5 separate regions of the Homo sapiens genome follow, and regions 1, 2, 3 and 4 are each linked to region 5. The links are contacts of gene promoters, found by promoter capture Hi-C in human tissues and cell types (Jung and others, 2019). All regions are on one chromosome and are shown on one strand. The core of a region is centred on a gene start or on the middle of the fragment in contact, and the rest is flanking DNA. Distances in the headings are between cores, read along the strand shown.

Region 1 (2,700 bases), core at 165-2,664, 1.3 Mb after region 5:
AATGTACTAAGGACAGTTGTCCAAGACATATTCTTAGTGAATGACTTTTTTAAAATCAAGGTTTGAAAGAATAAATATGGCTGGGCTCGGTGGCTCACGCCTGTAATCCCAGCACTTTGGGAGGCCGAGGCAGGTGGATCAGGAGATCAGGAGATCGAGACCATCCTGGCTAACACGGTGAAATAAATATATATTTATTTATTTATACTGTGAAGGGAAGGAGGCATTAGAGAATGGTTTAAAACTTGCATTCTTCTGTAATTTTTGTGCCTTATACAATGGTAATGTGCTTACATATTATTTATATTATTTAAAAAAAAGTGTTTTTTTAAAAACTGTAAATTGTGGTAAAGAAAGCAGATAGAGCCTTGTAGAGATTACTCTTGAAAAACCTGTATCAACAAAGACAATCAAATAAATTGAGTTATAGCTGAGGAAAATAGGGGTTCAGATTTATTATATTTTTTAAGATGAAGGACACTGTGTATATGTTAATTGGGAATGATTTTCTGGGTAGAAATATCATATTTCTTCAATTTTAAAATACAGGGGTTTTTTTCACATTTTAGTGATTCTGAATTTGGAATATGTTTCATAATCCATTAAATGAAGTGTAGAGGATTGGCATTAGCTTCTACAAGTCATCTTGAGGCAATATTCACCAAAATCCTTTTTAGATTAAATTTTCCACTTGAGGTCTTTGAAGCTCACTTGTGTTCAATTCTTGGGCTATTTCCCCCCTCCTCTTTTCATTCTGTGTCAAGGTTAAAATTGGCACATTCCATTGCTTTCCCTTTCTGCCTAGTAGGCTTTTGTCCTCACACATCCTTACATTGAAGATGAAGGCCTTTGATGTTCAAGTATTTGGGAATTTTTTATTAGCTTTCCTGTCTTCAAGCATATATTTTTTATCTCTGTGAAATGCAGATAAAGGCTATTATAAAAGTGGTAACAAAAAACAAATTAAGAAATGTTGATGAGGATGTAAAAAAAACAATCAAAACTCTTCTGCATTGCTGGTGAGTAGGTAAAATGCTGCAGTCTCTATGGAAAATGATATAGTAGGTCTTCAAAAAAATTAAACATAGAATTACTCTGTGATACAGCAATTCCACTACTAGGTATGCATTTAAAAGAATTGAAGGCACACCCATGTTTATAGCACCATTATTCACGGTAGTCAGAAGGTAGAATATTCCCAAGTGTCAATCAACAGGTGACTGGATAAACAAAATGTGGTACATACATGTGACAGAGTATAATCAGCCCTAAAAAGGAAGGACATGCTGACATATGCTATAGCACAGGTGGGACTTAATGACATTATGCTAAGTGAAATCACCCAGTGATGAAGAAAACATAATGTATGATTCCACTTATCTGAGATACCTAAAGGTACCTCAAGATGTAACTCACGAGGTCTTATTTATAGAGACAGAAAGCAGAATGGTAGTGCTAGGGCAAGGGAGGTAGGAGTAGGGGAAAATGGGGAGTAATTGTTTAATGGGTATGTCATTTCTATTTGGGAGGATGAAAGAAGTTTTGGAGATGGACGATGATCATACAAAAATGTGAATGTTCTTGTTGTCACTGAACTACACACTTAAAAATGGTTTACATAGCAAATTCTGTGTTTTGTATATTTTACCAGGATTAAAGAAAATAAAATAAATGTACATAAAGTAATGGCACAACCTATATTTAATGGCAGCTTAGATTTAAAGGAATGTTAAAAGCTCCAAAGAGAGAAGGAAACACAATACTTGAGAAGCAAGATTCAGCTCAGAAGTGCAGGGCTGGCCTTCAACAGGAGGAAGAAAAGGTCCATCAGCAGCAGGGAGAGACAAAAGGTGGCAGGGGCAGGTATGTTCACAGATGGATTAATATGAAAATGAGGGAGTTTCCTTCTCAATGCCATCTTACTTCTAAACAACGTATGAAGTGAGGTCATCAGGTGAGAGGGAAGTGTAGGCACGGAGGTGTGTGACATGTGAGAAGAGACCCTAGAAGTAGTAGTTATCCCAAAGAATGGGAAGTTAGCCCCACAGAAAAACATAAATACGCTTGTCAGTAGTACTGAGTCCCCACTTGAGAACATAAAGTACAATCAGTCTGAATAATTGTGTTAGTTATTCCAGCAAAGTTCACCTGTCTGTGTGCAAATAAGAGGAAACACAATTAGGTTGCTTCAGGATCAAGGTTGTGCAAGTTTAGAACAATGGCAAGAAGGAAGCAAGTGAGGAAATTGGGGATCATTTACATATATATATTTAAATGATTGACTATTGATTTCTCCATTTTGAAATGGGGATAATAGATCTTACCTCATACAGTTGGGTGAGTTGAATGTAAAGCATGTACAACTCTTTAAACAGTGTGTCTGGTAAAGTATTTAATACACATCAAATATTGTTACTGTCATATTACCATGGGTTATGAAATATATGCTAGACAATGAAGAAAGTGAAGACAGGTGAAAGCTGATGAATAATAAGAAAGCAGTCAGTCAGCAGATTAGACGTTTGGTGAGAACAGCAATAAAAATAATTATATTGAGGACTTTTGAACAAACAAGCCAGTTAAAAGTTTGAATGCCTGGAGAGCTTGACAAGAGATTGGTAGGAGGCAAAGGAGTGGGTAATTAGGGAGGCAAAGGAGTGGGTAATATAACCTGATAGCATAGGCTTCAAACGAGCAAGG
Region 2 (2,700 bases), core at 130-2,629, 1.3 Mb before region 5:
GAATAAATACTAAGGTTACCAAATACTTTAAAATAACTATAGTAAAAAGAAAAGACTATTAGGGCATTCTTGCATTGGTGTGGAAAAAAAAAACAGACTGAGTAATTTATTTTAAAAGAGAGGTTTAATTGGCTCACAATGTATAAGCATGGTGCTGGCATCTGCTTGGCTTCTATGGAGGGCTCAGGGAGCTTTTACTTATGGTAGAAGGTGAAGCAGGAGCAGGCACACCATATGGCAAGAGCAGGAGCAATAGGAGTGGGGGAAGCACCACACACTTTTTAAACAACTAAATCTCATGATAACTCACTCACTAGTGAGGAGATCACCAAGTGGATGGTGCTAAACCATTAATAAGAAATTCACCTTTATGGTCCAGTCACCTCCCACATTAGAGATTACAGTTGAACATGAGATTTGGGGGGACAAATATCAAAATTATGTCAATCCATCCCTGGCCCCCCAAATTTCATGTTCTTCTCACATTGCTAAATATAATCATGCCTCCCCAATAGTCCGCAAAAGTCTTAACTCATTCCAGCATTAACTCAAAATTTCCAGGTCAAGTCCCTTCTACCTATGAGCCTGTAAAATCAAAACAAATTATTTACTTCCAAGATACAATGGAGATACAGACATTGGGTAAACATTCCCATTCCAAAAGGGAGAAAATGCCCAAAAGAAAGGAGCTACAGGCCCCTCACAACTGCGAAATCCAGCAGGCCCATCATTAAATCATAAAACTCCAACATAATCTCCTTTGACTCCATGTCCCATATCCAGGGCACACTGATATGAGGGGTGGGCTCCCAAGACCTTGGGCACCTCTACCCAATGGAGCTTTGCAGGATTTAGCCCCTGAGGCTGCTCTCATGGGTTGGAGTCAAGTGTCTGTGGCTTTCCAAATGAAGGGTGAAAGTCTCCAGTGGATCAACCATGTTCAGGCCTGGAAGATACTGGTCTTCTTCCCTTCCCACAGTTTCACTAAGCAGTGTCCCAAGTGAAAATTCTGGGTGGGGCCTCCAACCCCACATTTCCCCTCTGCACTACCTTAGTAGAAGTTCTCTGTGAGGGCTCCACCCATGCAGCAGGCATCTGCCAGGACCCCATGGTTTTCCATACTGATATGGTTTGTCTGGGAGGTAATTGAATCATGGGGGCAGGTCTGTCCTGTGCTGTTCTCATCACAGTGAATACATTTCATGAGACCTAATGATTATATAAGGAGAAGTTTCCCTAAACAAGCTCTCTTCTCTTGTCTGCCACCATGTGAGATGTGCCTTTCATCTCCCGCCATGATTGTGAGGCCTCCCCAGCCACGTGGAACTAAGTCCATTAAACCTCTTTCTTTTGTAAATTGCCCAGTCTCGAGTATGTCTTTATCAGCAGTGTGAAAACAGACTAATACAGTAAATTGGTACCAGTAGAGTGGGGTGCTGCTAAAAAGATACCCAAAGATGTGGAAACAACTTTGGAACTGAGTAACAGGCAGAGGTTGGAACAGTTTGGAGGGCTCAGAAGACAGGAAAATGTGGGAAAGTTTGGAACTCCCTAGAGATTTGTTGAATGGCTTTGACCAAAATGCTGATAATGATATGAGCAATGAAATCCAGGCTGAAGTGGTCTCAGATGGAGATGAGGAACTTGTTGGGAACTGGAGCAAAGGTGACTCTTGTTATGTTTTAGCAAAGAGACTGGAGGCATTTTTCCCCTGTCCTAGAGATCTGTGGAACTTTGACGTTGAGAAAGATGATTTGGGGTATGTGGCAGAAGAAATTTCTAAGCAGCAAAGCATTCAAGAGGTGATTTGTGTGCTGTTAAAGGAATTTAGTTTTTAAAGTGAAAAAGAGCATACATGTTTGCAGAATTTGCAGCCTGACAGTGTAGTAGAAAAGAAAATCCCATTTTCTAAGGAGAAATTCAACCCAGCTGCAGAAATTTACATAAGTAACTAGAAGCCAAATTAATCCCCAAGACAATGTGGGAAATGTCTCCAGGGCATGTCAGAGGTCTTCATGGCAGCCCTTCCCATCATGGACCTGAAGGTCTAGGGAAAAAAAAAATGGTTTAGTGGGCCAAGCCCAGAGTGTCTGTGCTGTGTGTAGCCTAGGGACTTGGTGTCCTGTGTTCCAGCCACTCCAGCCATGACTAAAAGGGACCAAGGTACAGCTCGGGCCATGGCTTCAGAGGCTACAAGCCCCAAGCCTTTGCAACTTTCACATGTTGTTCAGTCTGCAGGTACACAGAAGTCAAGAATTGAGGTTTGGGAACCTCCGAGTAGATTTCAGAAGACGTATGGAAACGCCTGGATGCCCAGGCAGGTTTGCTGCTGGGGCAGGGCCCTCATGGAGAACCTCTGCTAGGGCAGGACAGAAGGGAAATGTGGGGTTGGAGCCTCCACACAGAGTCCCTACTGGGGCACTGCCTAGTGGAGCTGTGAGAAGAGGGCCACCATCCTCCAGAACCCAGAATGGTAGATCTACCAACAGCTTGCATTGTGCACCTGAAAAAGCTGTGGACACTCAACACCAGCCCATGAAAGCAGCCAGGAAGGAGGCTGTACCCCAAAAAGCCACAGAGGCAGAGCTGCCCAGGACCATGAGAACCCATCTCCTGAATCAGTGTGACCTGCATGTGAGACATGGAGTCAAAGGATATCATTTTGGAGCTTTAAGATTTGACTGCCCTGCTGGATTTTGG
Region 3 (2,700 bases), core at 201-2,700, 1.3 Mb after region 5:
CTTTGTCAGCCAGGATGGAGTGCAGTGGTATGTTCTCAGCTCACTGCAGCCTCAACCTCCCAAGCTCAAGCAATCCTCTCACATTAACCTCCAAAGTAGTGGGTCTATAGTCATATGCCACCACACCTGACTAATTATTTATTTATTTGTTTATTTATTGATTGATTTTGTAGAAACAGGACCTCACTATGATCCCCAGCCTGGTCTTGAGCTCCTGGACTCAAGTGATTCTCCTGCTTTGGCCTCACAAACTACTGGGATTACAGGCATGAGCCACCATGCGGGGCCCAGTCTGCTTTTAGCCACCCTTATGCATTGGTTACAATCTTGGCGCTCAGAGCAGTAATGAAAGGTATCCCTGTTGGCAAAGGAAAGGCTTTGTCTGTCCTATGCATTAATGAGTTTCACCCTAAACTTAGTAATCTAGTTAAATCCATGTTGATAGGATCCAGAGAAGCTCAAATTGGACGCAAGAGTCAGAATGGTACTGCCTTTAGGATATTAGTGATCACAAACCCCTATCTGGCCCATGTATGAGCCAGTAAAAGAAACACACACACACACAGTCTTTTGAAAGCCATTCCTAAAGTGTTTCCTGTCCATGCTGACTGATCCATCAACTAGACCTGCAGAGAAAAGAAATTGCTACTGATTTCAAAGCCCACTTGGAGAATATATTAGTCCATTCTCACATTGATATAACCAACTACCTGAGATTGCAGAGTTTATGAAAAAAGAGGTTTAATTGACTCACAGTTCTTCAGGCTGTACAGGAAGCATGGATGAAGAAGCCTCAACAAACTTACAATCATGGTGGAAGGCGAAGGGGAGGCAGGCACATCTTCACATAGCAGAGCAGGAGAGAGAGAACAAAGGGGGAAGTGCTACACATTTTTAAACAACTGTTAATGACAACAGATTGTCATTAAATGTCTGCGTTATTTCTTTTTTTTTTTTTTTTTTTTTTTTTTGAGACGGAGTCTCGCTCTGCCGCCCAGGCTGGAGTGCAGTGGCGTGATCTCGGCTCACTGCAAGCTCCGCCTGCCTGGTTTACACCATTCTCCTGCCTCAGCCTCCCGAGTAGCTGGGACTACAGGCCCCGCCACCACGCTCGGCTAATTTTTTTTGTATTTTTAGTAGAGACAGGGTTTCACCGTGTTAGCCAGGATGGTCTCAATCTCCTGACCTCGTGATCCGCCCATCTTGACCTTCCAAAGTGCTGGGATTACAGGCTTGAGCCACTGCGCCCGGCCTAAGTTAAAATACTTTAGCATTAATTGCTGAACATAAGTTTAAAGTATATATATTTTGGCATCTCGTTTTTTATATGGAATAAAGAAGTTGAATGTGTATAAATCCATTAATTAAAGACATAAAAATTGTATTATGAGAGAATGTTTATCTACAAAATGCTAATCTAAAGCAGTTAACAATGCCTACTAGTTTTTAGTAAAAGTTAAAGTTACTAAAAGTTAAAAATTCGGATTATTATATGTAATACAAACTTCTAGAAACAATAAGTGAACGACTCTGTATGCAAGGCAAGTAGGCATGTTTTATAAAGAAAGAAGTATGAGGATGTGTTTTGAAAAGAGAGTAGTTTTTGTCCTAGAGTGACTAATTGCTCCACAATTAAAAAGATAAAGAATATAGGACAAACTGAATATATATATATATATATATGCTGGGTGTGGCGATGCATGCCTATAGTCCCAGCTACTTGAACGGCTGAGGTGGGAGAATCGCTTGAACCTGGGAGGCAGAGGTTGCAGTGAGCTGAGGTTGTGCCACTGCACTCCACCCTGGGTGACAGAGAGAGATTCCAACTCAACAATAACAACAACAACAGAAAAATAAATAAATAAAAGCACCTATATGGCCAATCACTATTCTTACTGTCTTGCTGCACTTATATAAATAGGCCAAGTTTGATGAGACTAAATTTATTTGGTAATCAAATTATTCTTACTCTGATTATCTTCAGTAAAAATTTGGATGACTATAGAGAGAAAAACTATGTTTCAGAAGAAACTATAGTACACCTGTTATTAGATCGTGGCTCTAATCATTGCTTTTGAGTTTCATTATTTACCTATAAATTAAACTGGATCTTGAATTGGTATAGATTCCCACAATCCAATTTTCTCCCACTTTCCTGACTTGGAATCACTAAAAAGAAGAACTGCTCTGTTTCTGAAACACGACAAGCTGTAGATCAACAATTGGATGTAATTTCAGAGGATATCCCTCATGCCTGACGTGTGGGCCACTCAGGAAGTTGCCTGAAATGTCCAATGCCATAAGCAGGGACACTCAAACTGCAAACCGGGAACATATGCCTTGAGCTAAAATCTAGAAACCTTCTTGACTAATTACCCTCTGGACTCAGAGCTGAATTTTTGGTTTATTTTCGTCATTGACCTTTGCTTTTCTTCTGTTTCTTTAGAAATAGTTGATTTGGTTCAAGGGGACCTTGATTAAGGGGCACACTCCACTTTCTTGGTACTATCCTCCTGATAGCCATCATTATAATCGTCCTGGCATGTTATATTTTCTCAAGGGTCTTAAATTTGTGTTTGCAGACATCGACAGTATGCCAGATGGTCTCACTGTGATCAGAGCAACAAAAATAAAATGAAAAACAAAAGGAATCTCTTCAACAAGCCTGATGCCTTAACTTATGAGTTCCACAGAGACAAA
Region 4 (2,700 bases), core at 181-2,680, 1.4 Mb before region 5:
ACCTATAAATTGGTATGATGGTGACCAGTTTGATGGTAGTGATTTTCCTCAGATTCAGTGTTGCCTTATTACAAATCATTAATGTGTGAACATTTGTGGAGAGTATTCTTTTCAATGTATACACCTCTATATTTCACAAATTAAGTCAAATAGAAAAAAAGGACATTCTTTCACCTTAGCCCATTAGAAGAGTCTCAAACTTGTGAAGCTAAAGGTTTAACTTGTTTATTCAATTAAGTACTGTAAAACAAATCGGGGTAACAAAATATGGAAGCAGATGTCCATAGAAACAGATTTCCTAATAACGACCAAACTTATTTCCTTCACAAGCTATTTATGTGCTAGTTTTTTATGGGTGTATAATGTGGAAACCACATGTCATCCCATTTTCAAAATGGTAAGAAATCTAAACATTTTTATGATGTTTCATTTCAATGTTCAGTGTTATATTAATAATTTTAGAAATTCTTGTAGAATGAAAGACTGTTGATTTAAAGGGGGGCAGTTTTATTTTTATGCATACACTAAGCTTCTAGTTAAATACATTTAACCTTTCAGGATGTTATGTGAAGTAATGCTAAGGTACAGTAGTCTGCTATCTTGTCTGAACGACACCTGATTTCATTCCCTCAGTTTCCAATATCATGTGGTTTCTTAAAGTAGTAAAGTTGTAAAAACTGACATGTTTAGCTTTTTTTTAATCAGCATTTGTGGTTTTGTTTTGTTGAAAAACCTATTAGCATATTTCATTATCATCTTATTTTTACCACACGCACATAAGTTAGATGTGTAAAATTTTTATTTATTTAATTTGTATTCCTCCTAACTGAAGTTTTATGCCTTTTGACCAACCTCTCCCCAACCTTCTCCCTCCAACCCTGGTGACCACCATGTACTGTACTTCTGTGAGTTCAACTTTTACAAATTCTACATACAAGTGAGATCATGCGTTGTTTGTCTTTCTGTGGCTGGCTTATTTCTCTTAACATGGTGTCCTCCGGGTTTATCCATGTCAGAAATGACAGGATTTCCTTCTGTTTTAAGGCTAAATAGTATTCTAAAGTGTATATGTACCACATTTTTTTCATCCAGTAATCTGTTGATGGATACTTAGGTTGTTCCCATATCTTGGCTATTGTAAATTGAATAATGCTGCAATGAACAGGGGAGGTCAGATCTCTCTTCAACATACTGACTTCATTTCCTTTGGATCTATACCCAGTAGTGAGGATGCTGGGTCACATGGTAGTTCTATTTTTAATTTTTTGAGAAGCCTTCCTACTGTTTGCTTAATGGCAATGCTAATTTACATCCCACCAACAGTGTGCAAGTGTTTCCTTTACGTTCTTGCCAACATTTGTTATCTTTTGACTTTTTGATAATAGCCATTCTTACAGGTGTGCGATGACATCTCATTGTGGTTTTAATTTTCACTTCCTTAATGATAGTGATGTTGAACATTTATATACTTGATGGCCATTGGCATGTTGTCTTCTGAGGAATATCTATTTAGCTACTTTGCCCATTTTTTAAATTGGGTTGTTTTCTTATGATTGTTTGAGTGTGTTATTTTAGATAGAATTTCAAAAAGTACTTCCACTATTTAACTGGATGAACCTTTATTGTTTAATTTTTGCTTAAAGATGTGAATATTTACATTTATTAAAGTTTTTATATTTTACTATGCAAGCATATTCTTTACAGAAAACCAGTGAGATATAGCTAATTATGCTTCTCAAATTTAAAATGCTGTAATGGTTTAGATTTTAATTTCAAGGAGTAATCACTCCCAAACACACCTAGAAATCTTGTTTTCAAAGTTCATAGATATCCTCTAATTTTAACTTTTAGAATTCAAGATTTCCATTTCACCTTGCTTACGTACATCCTGATGTTTGTTAATGTCTAAGTTGCCTTCTTTATGTTTAAATTAATATTCTTCACAGTATTATTAAAAATAGTTTAGCAGTACACTATCCAGGTTAAATGATAAAATATTTGGATTCAAGTATCAGATGCCCATATATTTCTTAATTTATTATAAATTATTTTAAATTTATTATAAATTATTAAATCTTCTTTTTTTTTTTGTAGGCGCTTTGTTTAATGGCATTACCATTTATTCCTGCATCGAACCTTTTTTTTCCAGTTGGATTTGTTGTTGCCGAGCGAGTATTATATGTTCCCAGCATGGGGTTCTGTATTTTGGTAGCCCATGGATGGCAGAAAATATCAACAAAAAGGTGAATTTAAATGTCAGTTCATGTAATGCTTACTATGGAATTAAGTGTGACACATTTTAAAATTTAAATATTTAGTTCAGTTTTCTAAGTCATGCTTTTGTATCTTTTGGTTTTTCATCTCCATAGTCTCCTCATTTGTCTTGTAAGTCAAGTTAGGAAAGCTCCATGGCACCTACTTATTCTGTGTTCTTCCCTATATTTATGTAATTTGATTTTACAGCCTGAGACAGAACAAACTTTGAGTCAGATCCAAATGAAAACAAGGATGTTACTGAGAATAAAGTCTCAAATGACCATTGCCACTTCCATATTCAGTGAACTAAGATAATAGTCATCCTACTTAAGTGAGTCATATTGAGTTAATATATATAAAATGCATATAGTAAGCAATCTGTAATTTCTTGCTATCATCACTATCTTCATTATAATCTTTGTATCCTAGTTGCCTCAAACTAAC
Region 5 (2,700 bases), core at 1-2,500:
CCCCACACTTCCATTCCTGTGTCATACGTTCCAAGGTACTGAAAATATTTCTTGCTGACAGCAAACAGTCCTCCAGCCATGGTAGGTGATCTGATGGGGTCAATTCTTGATATCCGCCTGTCCCTTTCCTGTTTGGGGACAGAATGCCACTGAAATGTTAAACGCCAGTCAAACCCACCAATCATGGGCTCCCCTATCTGCATATAGAATTCAAAAGTATTCCAATCAATTGTGTCTATAACAGGACACACAACTGCTGTTTCATCTCTCCCAATCCTTTCCAAAAGCGGTTCCAGCCAACCGGAATTACACTCACAGTGACAATCCAGGAAAGTGAGGACGTCCCCAGTGGCGAAAGTGGCCCCAATCAGACGGGCCCTAACCAGCCCCTCTCGCTTATTGGTCCTAATCAAGCGTACTCTATCAAGATTGCTGATGTAAGTTTCAAGTTGTGTCTTCAAATAAACTCTGTCACTCAAGTCATCCACCAAGATGATCTCTTTCAAAAGAACTGCAGGAGAAGTTTCTAAAACACTGTGAATGGTACGGAGCAAAGTCGACCAGGCTTCGTTATAGAAAGCAATGATAACAGAGGTGGTAGGAAGTGTCCTATAGTTGAACTTCTGGGACTTACACTCATACATTCTTTTATCCTCTATGTGTCGATGCAGGGAAATCCTGTCACTGAGGTAAATATTGATGGCGTATCTCTCAATGAGTTCTTCTTGCTGCTTCAGTTCATCCTCGTTGAGCTGGAGTTTGCTGGCTTTCCCCCACTCCCCAAGTGCACGGGAATCTGCAGGGGGCTTCTTATAAAGCGGTCGAGACAAATCCTCCGTATTTTTCTGGAGGTCTGAGAGCCTTCTTGACCCCAGCTCCCTGGCACGGCCGGCTCCTGCGGAGGCATGAAAAGTAGAGACCAAGAGCTCCACGAAGATATAGGCCACTGTTAAAAACGCCAGCAGCAGGCAGCTCTTGCCTGCCCAAGTCCACCTCACCGCCATCCGGATTCTCAGGGCTGAGGCGCAGACGCGGCCACCAAGCCACCACGCAGGGGAAGGGCGGCGGAACCCACAGCTCGAGCTCAGGTACTTCCCAGCAGGTTCTTCCTTTCATGCAGGCGCTAGGCTCCTTTCCAGCCACCCAGGCTTTCCAGGGGTCACCTGAGCCCTCTCGGTCCTCGGCCTCCGGCACAGCCCAACTCCTCTCTCCCTACTTCCTCCTGCTCGGCTCACAACTTTTCACAAACTCTCCAGCCAACACCCCACCCTCCCCGGGCCGAGGAGAAACCCCTCCCCTTCCCACTCACTCCTCCTGGTGGTTAGTTTGCGAAAGTCGTCCGCCAGGCCCAGACCGCTGGATAGGAGGCTCTTGGCCGGGCCGGGGGCTGGGGGCCGGGATGGCAGAGGGGGCCCTAGCTGCGCCCCGCCGCGCTGGGCCCTCGTCTCCGGGTGCTCTCAACCCTCATACAGGCCCTTAGCCGTTCTCCTAGGGACCCTGCCCGGACAGGAGGAAAGGTTTCCGGCCCATGGAGTTTAGTCTCATTACAAAAGCAAAACAAGAATAAGACTTACCAAGTTGCTTGCCGTTGGGGCTGAGGTCCAAGGAGGTGATCGCAGCTTTGTGGCCTTTGAAATAACGCTCCAGAACGGGGTCCTCCTGGAAAGGAAAGTTGTCAAGTTTTGAAAGCCGCCGCAGACCTCGAATTCTGGCGGCTGGGATCCACGCTGCCACTTCCCCGGAGTCCGGCTTGGGAATGGCCACCCAGGCGGCGGCTTGGCTGGGCGGCGGGGCCGGGCAGCAGCCCACCCACGGGCGCGGCGCCCAGTCCTGCTACAGGGAGACGCCGGCGCCAGCTCTCCCCGCAGAGCCCGCAAAACGCTCTGTTCGCGCTTCCCAGAGTCCAGCGCATCGCAGGAACCGCGGCCCCTTTGAAATGCACGTTCCCGGGCCCCGCCCGCTGGCCCAAGGCAGGCAGGTGCGAGGATGCGCCTCGGCTTTGGTACTTTTTTTTTTTTTAATACTTCCTAGGTGATTCTGACGCAGGCGCTCCACGGAAACCCTCCGAGAATTCTGGGGGCCGTGGGGCCGCCCAGCTCAGTCCGGAGCTCCGGAACTCGGGGAAGAGCGTCCGGGAGCCGGGTCTGGGTTCCGCACTCCGTCCGCCCCGATGGCAGAGAGTGAGATACGGACGCCCCGGGACGAGGGGCTCAGGACCCGGCTACGGACACCTGCCTCCATCTCCCTCCAGGTGCGGCTTCGGCCCGGACCTGGCCCCGCAGCCCGCGGGACAGGCTCCAGGGAGGGACCCCCCCCACCTCCAACCCGTCCTTACCGTGGCTGAGGCCATCGGGGGAGTGGTCGGCCCAAGGCTCCTGTGGGTGGGGGAACCCGGAGAGGGGAGGGGAGAGGATGGGGAAGGAGAGGGGACCGTGCGGCTCCCGGAACCGTCTGCCCAGAGCGGCAGCGCCTCCCGGTCACTACAACAACGGCGGCCCAGTCAAACCCCGCGCTCCAGGCATGGCCAGCCGAGCCCCGAGACACCGCCAGCCCTGTAAAGAGAGGACGGGAGGTATGCGCCGGGTCAGCTGTGGCCACACACCAAGCCATGTTAACTAACACTCGCGTTCTCCCTGGTTTGATGTCAGGAAGTGGGGTAGTAACCAGGACTGGAATAAGAGCGATGAATGGAAGGGCGTT

The links. Contacts are between HindIII fragments. The study calls those that stand out against the background at their distance.
Region 1: a fragment that was not itself captured here is called in contact with the fragment with the promoter of GALNT4 in region 5 in 1 of the 25 tissues and cell types used here (mesenchymal stem cells).
Region 2: a contact is called between a fragment that was not itself captured here and the fragment with the promoter of GALNT4 in region 5, in 1 of the 25 tissues and cell types used here (hippocampus).
Region 3: a fragment that was not itself captured here is called in contact with the fragment with the promoter of GALNT4 in region 5 in 1 of the 25 tissues and cell types used here (dorsolateral prefrontal cortex).
Region 4: a contact is called between a fragment that was not itself captured here and the fragment with the promoter of GALNT4 in region 5, in 1 of the 25 tissues and cell types used here (IMR-90 fibroblasts).

What each region holds. Positions count from the first base shown.
Region 1 is chr12:90,830,711-90,833,410 of GRCh38, forward strand. No RefSeq gene overlaps it. Among named protein-coding and RNA genes, the nearest start is that of LINC00615, 86 kb to the right of the region's middle. The HindIII fragment of the contact is 7,187 bases long and covers 1-2,700 here.
Region 2 is chr12:88,202,812-88,205,511 of GRCh38, forward strand. No RefSeq gene overlaps it. Among named protein-coding and RNA genes, the nearest start is that of TMTC3, 62 kb to the left of the region's middle. The HindIII fragment of the contact is 6,396 bases long and covers 1-2,700 here.
Region 3 is chr12:90,847,028-90,849,727 of GRCh38, forward strand. No RefSeq gene overlaps it. Among named protein-coding and RNA genes, the nearest start is that of LINC00615, 70 kb to the right of the region's middle. The HindIII fragment of the contact is 4,404 bases long and covers 1-2,700 here.
Region 4 is chr12:88,170,503-88,173,202 of GRCh38, forward strand. TMTC3 (transmembrane O-mannosyltransferase targeting cadherins 3) reads left to right here. Exons shown (of 14, transcript NM_181783.4): 8 at 2,095-2,243. Among named protein-coding and RNA genes, the nearest start is that of TMTC3, 30 kb to the left of the region's middle. The HindIII fragment of the contact is 7,147 bases long and covers 1-2,700 here.
Region 5 is chr12:89,523,546-89,526,245 of GRCh38, forward strand. GALNT4 (polypeptide N-acetylgalactosaminyltransferase 4) reads right to left here and starts at 1,251. Exons shown (of 1, transcript NM_003774.5): 1 at 1-1,251. The coding sequence starts at 1,004. POC1B-DUSP6 (POC1B-DUSP6 readthrough) reads right to left here and starts at 2,502. Exons shown (of 11, transcript NR_189589.1): 1 at 2,336-2,502; 2 at 1,575-1,659. POC1B (POC1 centriolar protein B) reads right to left here and starts at 2,502. Exons shown (of 12, transcript NM_172240.3): 1 at 2,336-2,502; 2 at 1,575-1,659. The coding sequence starts at 2,350. It overlaps POC1B-GALNT4 (POC1B-GALNT4 readthrough), which reads right to left. Exons shown (of 3, transcript NM_001199782.1): 1 at 2,336-2,700; 2 at 1,575-1,659; 3 at 1-128. The coding sequence starts at 2,610. It also overlaps POC1B-AS1. RefSeq lists an enhancer at 968-1,177 and silencers at 1,268-1,647, 2,198-2,457. The HindIII fragment of the contact is 7,763 bases long and covers 1-2,700 here.